Linked DNA regions of Homo sapiens: regions 1 and 3 are each linked to region 2. The links are contacts of gene promoters, found by promoter capture Hi-C in human tissues and cell types (Jung and others, 2019). All regions are on one chromosome and are shown on one strand. The core of a region is centred on a gene start or on the middle of the fragment in contact, and the rest is flanking DNA. Distances in the headings are between cores, read along the strand shown.

Evidence for each region. The method cuts DNA at HindIII sites, captures the fragments that hold promoters and counts their contacts. A contact is called where the count stands out against the background at its distance.
Region 1: a contact is called between a fragment that was not itself captured here and the fragment with the promoter of DMC1 in region 2, in 9 of the 25 tissues and cell types used here (H1 embryonic stem cells, IMR-90 fibroblasts, dorsolateral prefrontal cortex and 6 more).
Region 3: a contact is called between the fragment with the promoter of SLC16A8 here and the fragment with the promoter of DMC1 in region 2, in 4 of the 25 tissues and cell types used here (H1 embryonic stem cells, IMR-90 fibroblasts, dorsolateral prefrontal cortex and 1 more).

The regions. Positions count from the first base shown.
Region 1 is chr22:38,172,210-38,176,253 of GRCh38, reverse strand. All of the region lies in intron 1 of PLA2G6 (phospholipase A2 group VI), which reads left to right. Among named protein-coding and RNA genes, the nearest start is that of PLA2G6, 7.6 kb to the left of the region's middle. RefSeq lists enhancers at 1-17, 2,000-2,144 and a cis regulatory region at 2,072. The HindIII fragment of the contact is 3,596 bases long and covers 951-4,044 here.
Region 2 is chr22:38,568,826-38,572,709 of GRCh38, reverse strand. DMC1 (DNA meiotic recombinase 1) reads left to right here and starts at 2,527. Exons shown (of 14, transcript NM_007068.4): 1 at 2,527-2,667. It overlaps LOC105373031 (a long non-coding RNA gene), which reads right to left and starts at 2,210. Exons shown (of 2, transcript NR_134627.1): 1 at 2,116-2,210; 2 at 1,352-1,957. RefSeq lists enhancers at 1,792-1,841, 1,428-1,938 and a silencer at 2,242-2,531. The HindIII fragment of the contact is 22,042 bases long and covers 1-3,884 here.
Region 3 is chr22:38,082,067-38,086,016 of GRCh38, reverse strand. It overlaps SLC16A8 (solute carrier family 16 member 8), which reads left to right and starts at 1,833. Exons shown (of 6, transcript NM_013356.3): 1 at 1,833-2,029; 2 at 2,656-2,975; 3 at 3,136-3,357. The coding sequence starts at 3,144. BAIAP2L2 (BAR/IMD domain containing adaptor protein 2 like 2) reads left to right here. Exons shown (of 14, transcript NM_025045.6): 13 at 285-331; 14 at 642-1,117. The coding sequence ends at 717. RefSeq lists enhancers at 1-7, 1,568-2,349 and a silencer at 3,325-3,374. The HindIII fragment of the contact is 9,296 bases long and covers 1-3,950 here.

The DNA.
Region 1 (4,044 bases), core at 1,499-3,998, 400 kb after region 2:
TCTTTCCTGCTTGGACTAGGAGTGAGCTCAGCCTAAGTGCCCTGACTATATATAAAGCTGAACTTTCCAGACCGAAGCCTGGGGATGGATCAGTCCGATCACTTAGGGCCGCTCCTGAAGGAGTGCAGGTGCTAGATACAGGTTCTCCCGGTGGAGGAGCGAACCCCTTGTGGGCCGTTAGCTACTGGTGGGATTTGAGCATGGTATTTCCCTATCCGTTGTGGAGAGGAGCATGGCAGCTCAGAGTGGGTGGGAACAGTGTGTGGTCCCTGTTATCACCTTCAAGGGAATAAAGTGTGTCTGGGGGCTTCAGAGGTGCTGGCCCCATGGGCTTATAGGTGGTTCATTCATTCATTCTCATTCATTCATTCACCAAACTTATTAAACACCCACTGTGAGTCAGGAACATCATGCCAGGTGCTTAGGGAAACAAATCAAAGCGGGTTGGGTGAGCAGCCCAAGCCAACAGATGCACCCCCATTCTCACATGGTGTGTGTTCCTGTGGGCTGGGCCCTGGGTGGTGTGGGGTGCTGGGGAGAAGAGGAAGGCACACCAGGCTGCAGGGCGGAGGTGCGGGTATGAATTTTCAGAGGAGATGGCACCTGAGCTGTATCTTCATGGATAAGAAGAGATTTGTTCATTTGTCCTTTGTGGAGCACACATTCAGGTTAAGAAAGTGGGGAGGATGGGCTACGCTGATGGAGCGTATGTGTGGTATCCCCAAGTGCACTGAGACACGAGTTTGACGTGTTCTGGGAAGATCGATGGTGCGGCGTGGCTGGAGTAGAGGTGAGGGATGAGTTGGAGGGGTGAGTTGGGCCAGCTCTCATGGATGCTGGAGTCTGGGCTTTCCCTGGGAGGTCATGGGGCGCCACTGGCCAGGGTCAGCAGGGAGACCTGCAGCTGGATTTGCATCGTACAGTGGGCATGGAGGGGTGTCAGGCTGGGTTGGGAACCGTGCAGGCTGGAAGGGCACTCTGGTGCTCTGAGCATTCAGAGGGGGCAGCTGGGCCTTGAAGGATGAGCAGGGGCTCCAGCAGGAACTGGAGAGCGCATTCCAGGGAGGACGCAAGTGCAGGCCCCTTTCACTACAGAAAAGCAGTTTTCACACAGACCTTCCAAAGGGGAGGAGAGGGGACTGCCTGGGCCTGGCAGCTGCGGCAGGTAGCAGCAATCAGAGGGCAGGGACCGCTCCTCCCGTGCCTGAGACCTGCCCAGGGTCCTTCAGGGAATTCGTAGCTGAGGAGGAACCAGATTTTTGGGACTGAGTTCTCCCTCACCACCCGCTCTGAGCCACCCTCTTGGTCCCTTGTCCTCTACTGCACTTCTTCCGGGGCTTGGCTCCTCGTCATGAGAGGAGCTTCCCTGGGCATGGCGAGGGGCGTGACTGACATAGCAGCCCTGGACAAGTGGCTCCAGGTGACCTGTGTTCACGTTGATCACAGCACTAACCACGGCCCCTCCTCTCAGCACCTTCCCCTCTCGAGCCGTCCAGTCCCAGTGAAAATGCTCACCGTTCATGGGTGGGCTGAGCAAGCCCCTGATCTCTGCCTTCCTCCGTGTTCTGATCTGCTTCATCTGCTGTGAAGGCCTCTCGCCATTTCCCCCGCTGGCAAACTCCTGTTCTTCCTGGAAAGTTCAGCTAAAAAGTCATCCCCTTTAGGGGTCCTTCCCTCAGGGGACCGTGCACTTGGCGAGACAGGGACTGGTCTTGGGTCTCTCTGTTGACTGTTTTATGAACCCAGGTAGTCACTTCCAGGGAACTCATCAGAGATGCTACCATTGGCTCCAATCTCCCTCTGTTCCCACTCGAGGTTTTTTGTTTCTTCGTTTGTTTTTCTTTCTTTCTTTTTTTTTGAGACAGAGTCTCGCTCTCGCCCAGGCTGGAGTGCAGTGACATGATCTCGGCTCACTGCAAGCTCCGCCTCCCGGGTTCACGCCATTCTCCTGCCTCAGCCTCCCGAATAGCTGGGACTACAGGCACCCGCCACCACGCCCAGCTAATTTTTTTTGTATTTTTAGTAGAGACGGGGTTTCACCATGTTAGCCAGGATGGTCTCAATCTCCTGATTTCGTGATCCGCCCGCCTTAACCTCCCAAAGTGCTGGGATTACAGGCGTGAGCCACTGCGCCCAGCCCGTTTGTTTTTGTTTTTTGGTGGACATCAACTTTAATTTGCCCTTTGTTTTGTTTTGTTTTTGAGGCAGGGTCTTGCTCTGTCTCCCAGGCTGGAGTGCAGTAGTGCAATCTTGGCTCACTGCAGTCTCGACCTCAAGAGGATCAAGCAATCCTCTTGCCTTAGCCTCCCGAGTAGCTGGGACCACAGGCGCACACCACCATGCCCAGCTAATTTTATTTTATATTTTGTAGAGACAGGGTTTTGCCATGTTCCCCAGGCTGGTCTCAAATTCCTGGGCTCAAGCAATCCGTCTGCCTCAGCCTCCCAAAATGCTGGAATTACAGGCACGAGCCACTGTGCCCGGCCTTAATTTGCCCTTTGAACATGTACAATTCAGGGCCTCTCTGGGCCTCAGTTTCTTGATCTCTGAGATGGGAAGATGGGATAATAATACTTGTTCCTCCCGTCCTTCAGCTCCTCCAGGGGACCCTCACACCAGCACACTCTCTGTCAGTCTTCCCTCAATGAACCCAGCAGGCAAGCTTGGTTTTGACAGAGGATGGGTGAGCAGAGATAAGGAAAACGGCCAGAAATATCTGGCTTCCCTCAGCAGGGGCACCAAAATTGGTACCTGGAAATTGCCTGGCTTGGACAGGCAGAATTGTCACTGTCAACCCCCACCACCAAAGGTCTTGGGTCTTTGTCTTTCTGCTTGTGGTGTTTGAGAGAGCTGCTTGACACAGCCGAGGTGCGGTCTGTGTCAGGTGACCTGGGCATCCTGGGGGTGCAGGGAGAAGCCCAGGTAAGGAGGAGGAGGGGCCGGTCATCAGTGGGGAAAAGTGATTGTCTACCCCACGGGAAGGTCAAGGGTAGGACGCTGTGAGAAGCCAGGGGGAGAGATGAAGTGAGGCATGATGCGGGGGGCCCTCATCCACCATCCCCCTCTTGCAGCTGTGCTGGGAAGAGCCTAGGCTCCAGGGTCCAAGGTGGCAGGGACAGAAGGAAGCACGTGTGAGCACTTTCTCCCTGCTGGCCCGCCTTCCTGGTTGGCAATGCCGTGAGTGTTCCAGGATGTGGCCCCGTGGCTGTCATTTCCTTTCTTCCACCTAGTGATAACAATGGCCACTGTTTGTGTGCCCACAGTCGGCCTGTGTCCCAGACACCTTCCCTCCATTGCGTCATCTCGTCCTCCTGCCTACCCTGAAGGCTGGATGCCAGCCAAGCCTGTCGTTTCTGTGGCCATGCTGTCGTGGGTGTGTGGGGGGCATCCCCTAGCCCCAGGCTCTGGTGGGGGGTACACAGGCTGGGCCATTGACGAAGGGGTGTGTGGAATCTTTCTTTGATTTCACTGCACCCCTGGTGACTTTCTCCCTCAATCTGAGGCTCATGGGTGCTGGATGCTCTTGACTCTCTGCCCTTCCTGGGCGCACCCCTCCGCGTCCCTGTGGGCCCGTCCTCGGGGTAGCCTCTCTGCGCTCTTCCAGGCCAGGCCTGAGTCCCACAGGTCCCCATCTTCCCGGCTGCAGCCCCCAGAGGCTCAGCCTATACTGCTACTTCCTTTGAAAACTATAATCGCTTTACATAGCATCTGGAAAATAGGGAAAAGGAAAAAACAAAAGCCCATAAACCCAGCACCCTCATCTACTCAATGGCATGTTTTCTGTCAGTCTATCTTGGTTTGTTTTCTATCAGGCTTTGTTTTTTCTATGCATAATATTTACTCAGTTAAATTTTTGTTTTGACAAACTTTCTGTGAGCCAAGCTTGTGGACGGAGATGAAAAGACGAGCAGCTGCCTTTGAGAAACTCAGACTCTGGGCCAGCCCATCTGGGTGCCAGCTTTCACTGCTCCACCCACTAGCTGGGTGACCCTGGGCCCGTGACTTTACCCCTCTGTTCTTTGGTGTTCTCATATGTAAAATGAG
Region 2 (3,884 bases), core at 1,278-3,777:
CCAAAAAATTAGCTGGGTGTGGTGGCTTGTGCCTGTAGTGCCAGCTACTCAGGAGGCTGAGGTGGGAGGATCGCTTGAGCCCGGGAGATTGAGGCTGCTGTGAGCCAAGATCTTACTTACCACTGTACTCTAGCCTGGGTGACAGAGGGAGACCCTGACTCAAAAACAAAAAGCAAAACAAAACAAACAAATATTTTTAAGGGGAATTCTACCCAGTGAAATTTGTACGTGATGAGCCTTCATTCTTTAGTTCTCTACTAAAGCATTTCTCAAATTCAAGCTCTTGAAATTTCAAGAATATGTATCAGCAAGCATCACTTTGTAGAAGCCCAACTATACGCGCTGGAATCCTGTGCCTCTATTTGGTTATAAGGTGACTGTCCACGGAGGGGCAGTAAAGTGTAATAGTTTAAAATTCAGGTCTTAACTATAATCCCACTGCCTATTTTTTTATTTCTAAAAATATCATAAAAAGACACAAAATTTTAAAATTGTGTAGAGAAATTGTGGACTTCCTGAAGGATTTGAAAAATTAGGCAAGCTATATTATCCAGTTAATAATTGACACAAAAGCTCTGGTTTGCCATGTTCTATATTGTGGATAGGAAAGTACCATTTTGCCATGCAGGATATATTTTTTTAAATATAAGCATACTTAACAATCTTTCATGGCTTCTGAGTTTTGTAGCATACTTAAAAAGATGTTTCTTATTACAAAGTAATTTTAAATATCCCATATTTTCTTCTAGTACTTTTATTATTTTATTGTTCAGATTTAATTTTTTGATCTGTCTGGAATTTATTTTGGTATAATGTGTAAAGTGTGGTTCCAATTTTATTTTTCTTCCAGATGGTTACCTAGTTGTTCTAACACTATTCACTGAATTCATCATTTCTCCACTGATGTGAAATGCCACCTTCATGATATTCAGAGTTTTTGTATGATACGAAAGACAATTTTTTTGGTTCCGATTTTAGTGGAAAGTCTTCATGTGCACTTTTTAACTGTCCTAGAGTTTGTTGTTGTTTTAAATATCTTAAAAGTTGTCTCTAACCATCGATATGATACCCAGATAAGATTTTTCTCCTCCCTTCATGAATTTGTCATTACCCAGCTCATTTTAGTTTTTTTAAGTGTACTGCACACAACCTTCAAATATTATGAACATTTCTCTCTCCCAGCTGTCACTACACCAAACTACATATGTTATATTTCCCTAAATCATCTTGCTGTGCTCTTTGCAGCTCTTCTGTAGACTGTTGATGTCTTCACCTAACGAGTTGCTCAAAAGTTCCCATAATTATTTAGGTGAGGCCTCAGAGCGAAAGCCTTTCACCACTATCCAGTTCCTCCCCCAAATGGGCATTCATCTCCATATAACAAGGACGACTGTGTTTGGGGGAAAATAACAGATTTGGAAGCACAATGGCAGTTATTTGTTGGCTCTTAAAACAATCCACCTGTTGGGGGGGTGCGTCCTACACAAAATGCCAACTGCTATTGTGGGAATGTTTTGCTATTTATTCCACCAAAATGATTCAGACAGAAAAAACAAAAAGGATCGCCCTGTACTAGGTCTTGAACCCAAAGAACTGTTTGCACAGAGATTCATCCAAGATACATCACAGCCTCCACCTCGGCAGCTGCTCTCTCAAATGTTTCCTGACTCTCCCCAAGTCAGTCTCCGCGTGAGGGGAGGAGGAGGATGCTGCCAGCGATGGCGCTGCTGGCACGAAGGCTGGCCTGCGACTTCTATTTAAAAGCTGAACCAAAATATACTTGGCGTCTGTGGTCTATTTAAAACTTCAAGTTAAGACAGAGAAAAAATTACTCTCCATCCTGAATGGGCCTCGGGTGTCTCAATCACAGACAAGAGTGGCAAATGGTGAGAGTCAGAAAGTGGGAAATTAGGAACGCTGAGGGAGCACGGCCAAACTCTGAAGCCAGCATGAAAACCTGGAGGTGAAAAGAGAAGCCATGGGCAGCGGGGGCGGGGGGAAACGGGCCCGGATTCGACCTTCTAAGCCAAGGCTCCATCTGCAACCCTCGCGACCAAGACCTATCGCCAAAGTCAGCCACCTCTGCTCATCGCCCCTCCCCCGACTCAAGGCTACCTCCTCAGAACCCCGCCTCAGGGTCTTCTCCCGGACTTTAGCGAGGTGCTCAGCTCGAGGGACGCCCCAGCTCAACGGTCTCCCTTCAAGGCCCCGCTCCTCAGCGCGCTCCTTCCACAGCGCCCCTCCCTCCCTCCCTCCGTCATCCCAGCTCGCCACCCGCTGGGGCTCCTCTTCGTTTTCCGCGCCTCAGCCCTCGCCCCGCCCCCTCGCCCTGAGCCCCCTCCAGGCCACGCCCTCTGGTCCCCCCACCTGTGAGCCCGCTCGTTCCCCGCCCTTCGGTCTTCGCCCCGCCCCCATTGCTCCCCGCCCCTCGTCGCCCTCTGTAGGCCTGCTCCCTCCCCGCCCTTCCACCCTCACCCTGCGCCCCGCCCCGGCCCCTTGGTCCTCGCCCCGCCCTCCTCGTTTGGCGCCAAACCCTGTGGTCAACGGCGCGCGGGTCTCCAGGCTCCGTGTTCTAGGCCCGAGTTAGAATCCTGTCAGCTGAGGAGGTCGGGCGGGGCAGAGGGGCTTCACCTTGAAAATCTCGGGGAGACTGTGGGTACGAGGGGGGTAAGTGGCAAAAACGAACAGCGTGCGAAGACTCTGAGGGGACGCTCGTTTTGAGAAGGCGCGCTTCCCTTTCTCGCTCCTTTTTTGGGGTCCCTGGGCTAGTGACTTTGAGCGTTCCGCTCCGACCTTTGGGGAGGAATTTTAGTGATCTTGAGGGATTTCCAACCTCATTTTCAATCGAATCGGACCTGAGTCTAGGAGAGCCCGCCTCATCCTCCTGACCAGGGAATCCGGTGTCAGGAAAATGTCCGGCGGCCGCAGGGGGTCTGCCCAGGCCTCCTGCTGAGGGAGGCGTCGAGGGCGACCCGACCGCGCTGCTGCCCCCACCAGAGGGGACAGCTGGGTCGTCTTAAACCGGGGGATTGGGGAGCCCTACTTTCAATCCAACGGTTCAGTCTATCAACGGCTCCTTGAGAGATGGGGGACAATCTTTTCATTTCATCACGGGGAGAAGAAATGAATGCTGTTTTTCTCTTCGATGGGGACAGTAAATGTGGAATTGGGGTACTCATAGCTAGCCATCTGAAGGACAGTGTCCCCGAAGATCCCATCCGAACGGTCTCGGTTGCCTTCCATCCTTTGCCGTTTGAGGTGCTGGGTGGTAGGACCCTGCTCCTGCCTTAGTATTAATGGTTCGTTCCCTTTGTTCTAGGGTCCAACCCCTGACTTTGGTATCAAATGAGGAAATGGAATCGACCAAGAAAAATGATGATTTGGACCGCATTTTATTGTAATAAATAAACACAATCACGCCTTGTGGATTCCTGAGATTTCTTTTTGAGTCTACAATGTTAAAAACTTTAACTGCTTATCAGCCTTAATATAATATTATGATCCACCAATTTTTTTTTTTTTTTTTGAGACTGAGTCTCGCACTGTCGCCCAGGCTGGAGTGCAGTGGCATGATCTCGGCTCAGTGCAACCTCCGCCTCCCAGGTTCAAGCGATTCTCCTGCCTCAGCCTCCCAAGTAGGTGGGATTACGGGCGCCCACCACCACGCCCGGCTAATTTTTTTGTATTTTTAGTAGAGACGGGGATTGGCCAGGCTGGTCTCGAACTCCTGACCTCGTGATCTGCCTGTCTCGGCCTCCCAAAGTGCTGGGATTACAGGCATGAGCCTCCACACCCGGACCACCATATTTTTAAATCTTAAAAAAATCATGAAACTAGTAAATACTGTGAAAGAAAGTATAGCTAATGTTCTATGAAACAAAAAG
Region 3 (3,950 bases), core at 584-3,083, 490 kb after region 2:
GCTGGGGGAGGCCAGGGAGGGCATCTCCGATGGAGCCACCCCGGTCTTATCCTGGGGGCGTGGTTAGTCCTTGGAGGTGGTGCTCTGGCCTAGGGGTTTCTCACTTCTGCAACCCACAGAATTCTGGGCTTCAGAACGTCAGGGTCTCATTTTCCAGGAGCCTGGCATGGCAGGGGCTCTCTGGCCCAGTCCTCTGCCCTTGGGCATGGGGAGAGGGAGGGGAGGAGCAAGGGATTGCTTGCCCCTCTCCCCACCAAACCAGCCCTTCCCCACCCCCACTGCAGAAACTGATGTCCTCAGAGCAGTACCCACCACAGGAGCTCTTCCCGAGGTGAGTCCTCACATGGGGGCCCAAACAGTGAGGAGGGTGGCAGGTGCGGCGGCACACACTTGTAGTCCCAGCTACTAGGGAGACTGGGGCAGGAGGATCTCTTGATTCCAACAGTTCAACATCAGCTTGAGCAACACTGTGAGACCCTATCTCTTAAAAGAAAAAAAAAGATGAAGCGGGGCAAGGAGTGGATGGAGACCAAATAGGGGCAGGAGGCAGGACCCAGCTCAGTTGCCCAGCTGCCTTCCTGAGCCATGGCCAGGTGGGGATCATCTGCCCTTCTCACCCCATTCTCTCTCTCCTCCTACAGGGGCACAAATCCTTTTGCCACTGTCAAGCTTCGTCCCACCATCACCAATGACCGCTCAGCACCCCTCATCCGCTGAGGCGGGGTCCGAGGTCGTACCCCACAGTGCACCTGCCCAGGGGCTGTTCAGAGCTGGCAATGGCAGCGACAGCAGCAACAGCAGCAGATCCAAGAAGCGGGTCCCTGAGACGGGGGGTGGCTGCCCTCCCCAGACCACCCCGGCAGCCTGAGCAGCTCCAAAGCACTGGCTTGGGGTCCGAGACCTTCAAAGTAAAGCAGGCGGAATGGGGGGACAGGACAATTTCTCCCCCTCCAGGGGCTCCAGGACTCTCCCTGGGGGGCCCACCTCTTGCCCCCTAACCTCTTTCCCCCTTTTCTGCCCCCGTGGGGAGGAGCCCCTTGTACCTGCTCCGTGCCCAACACATGCCCTCTCTGTACATCTTTTGTAAATGATGAGAAATAAAGGAAGTGGACGCAAAGTGATGCGGCAGCAGGACTGGTGGTGTCTTATTTGGGGGACAGGGCAGGGGGTGAGGGATAGAGACTCCCCCATTGGAGAATGGGGTCTAGGGGGTACTGAGGTCCTGGCTGTTCCCCGGGAAGCCATCTCACTCCCAGCCCCTTGTTTGTTTGTTTGGAGAACTCTTTAGGGCTGCCCCAAAGCCCTCGCGCTGCAGCCCCCATCTCCACCTGCTCTCATTTCGACCTGTGGGTTTCCTAGGAAGTAGCGGCTGCTCGGGTCAGGGGAGAGGTGGCAGTGGCCAAGGGCTGGGACCACCAGCAAGCTGCCCTCAGGCGGCCTGGACACAGCACCCTTTGTTTTGGCCCCTCCCCCCCCCACATTCCCAGGCACAGGCGTGGATTAGCTTCATTCTAGAGAAAGCTGCCAGCCCCTCCTGGAATGTGGCCTGGGGCGGGGGGTTGGGGCGGGGGCAGATGAGGCACTGAGGTGATTAGAACCGTTGGGGTCTCTTCAGGGCAGGGCTGTGCCCCCAGCACCAGACTAGGACCCCCTGGGCAAGGTCTCTGTGTCTACCACCCCAGGCTCCAGGAGGCACAGGGATTCTCTTCCTCCCTCCTGGACTGGCTTGGGACAGGGAGCCCACCGCCGAGGCCCAGCCTGGCCTGGGGCTCCCAGTCTCTTCTCCCCTCCTGGACAAAAGCCTCTTAGCAGGGGTGAGGTGTGGTGGGGGCACACACTCTAAGCTCCAGGCCTGGGGCAGGGAGCGTCAGGCGGGAGTCGGCCAGAGGCTCAGCCCAGGCTGGTGGGAAGCTGGGGTGTCTGGCAGCCCCCATCCGGGTAAGCTTCACCGGGAGCTGCGGCGGCGGCCCCTCCCTGCAGGCCTCAGGAGATGTGAGGCTGGACCCCCAAACCCACGAGGCAGGCTCAGGTGAGTGTGATGTGAGGGCTGCCTGGGATCACCCTCCTGTCTCCACCTTCAAGTGGCTGCCCCTGTGACAAGAGGACAACAGGCAGGAAAAGCCACAACCTGGTCCTAGTGGAGGAGGGGCAGAGTCCCGGATACCCTGGGGGTGGTGGCACTGCCCAGTGCCAGGAGGGACACTCCAGGCAGGAGGGCAGGAGGCTATCCCCAGCCCCCGGCTCCTGGTGCACCTGTCTCTGAGTACACCCTCCTCATCTGTTATGGGGGCGCTTGTAACTGCTGTGAGGGCCCCGGGTGGAGCCCCAGGAATGAGACAGGCTTTGGAGCCATTCTTTTCATATAGAGGGTTTGAGGTTTGGAGGGCAGAAGGCCACTCTCTCAGTGCTGCTAAGGTTCCTACCTGTCTGGCAGAAGCCAGAGACCTGACTCCTCTCCCGCAAGATTCCCAGCTGGCCTCGGGGTGATCAATCACCCATCTTACATCGGAGGAAAGGGAGGTTGGGAGAGGGGAGGCGACCGGCCCAAGTCAGGGAGGGAATCCATGGCTGAGCTGAGATGCATGGGAACTCAGCTCCCCTGGCTGATATCTGTTGAAAGTGGCTTTTGTCCCCTTAATGTTCTAATGACAATAGTCATTTGTGATCACTGAGAAACATTAGGAACATGGCGGAAGGCTAAAGAGGAAAATCACGCACAGCGGCCCTTTGCAGCCGGCATCTGCCCCTCTGCTGTTTGTTCTGTTGTCCCGAGACCCTCACGCGTACGGGGCGACTTTGGTGCTGGACGCCCACCTCCAGGCACATACCTGCTCCACTTCCCGACGCCTTCCACCTGAGGCCCTGAGGGGCCAGCAGTTGTCCTTCAGAGGGAGCCTGCAGAGGTGCAGAGTCAGGTGGGACCCGTCGTCCTCCCCTCGTCCTTCAGCGCCCTTTGCAGGAGAAGGAGACTTGGGGTGAGAGTCCTACCTCCGTTTCCCCTTTTGGTTCCCAGACCTGAGCCACCCTCACGTGGGTAGCCCTGTGCCTCAGTTTCCCCATGCTTCGTCTCCATCCCCCTCCTTCTCTAGGCTGCTGGCCCAGCCCCTCCCTCTTGTCCCCGCCCCCTCCCAACAGAGGCAGCGATGGGCGCTGGCGGCCCCCGGCGGGGCGAGGGCCCCCCAGACGGCGGCTGGGGCTGGGTGGTGCTGGGCGCCTGCTTTGTGGTCACCGGCTTCGCCTACGGCTTCCCCAAAGCCGTGAGCGTCTTCTTCCGCGCGCTCATGCGCGACTTCGACGCCGGCTACAGCGACACGGCCTGGGTGTCCTCCATCATGCTAGCCATGCTCTACGGCACGGGTCAGTGTCCCCGCCCGGCCCTCCGCCTCCCCGGGACCCCTGGGATCCGGAACCAGGAGACACCCGAGCCCCTGAGCATCCCCCTGACCCTCGGGGTGGCCCCCGAAGTCCCTTCCTGCCTGTGGGAACCCTGGCACCAGAAAGAGGGGAAGAGAGGGCGGGAGGGAGACAGCGGCCAGAGGCGGGGCCGGCCCAGGGGGCTGCCCTGCGAGCTCAGAGGGCCCCTTCTAAGACCACACCCGCCCATTGTAGAGGCAGGAAAGCTGAGAGCCACAGAAGCACTCCCCCTCCCCGCAGCCCTGACCTGTAGGTGGGGGCTTGCTGGAGTTCCCATCCTGGGAGGCGGGGCTGCGGAGGAATCCCAGTCTGTGCCAGGGCGGGACTTGGAGGCTGTGAAGGTTAAAGGGGTGCGGAAGCCCCCGCTCCGCTTGGGGTTTGGGTTCGCAGGATGGGGTGCTCTGGGCCTTGCCCTCGCAGGATGCTGTCTCTTTGGCCTGTCCCCTCCAAGCTGTGTGACCTTGGCCAGACACTGCCCTCCTCTCTGTGTCCCTGAGCCGGAGGTGACCTTATTCCTTAGAGGACTCAAGCCATCC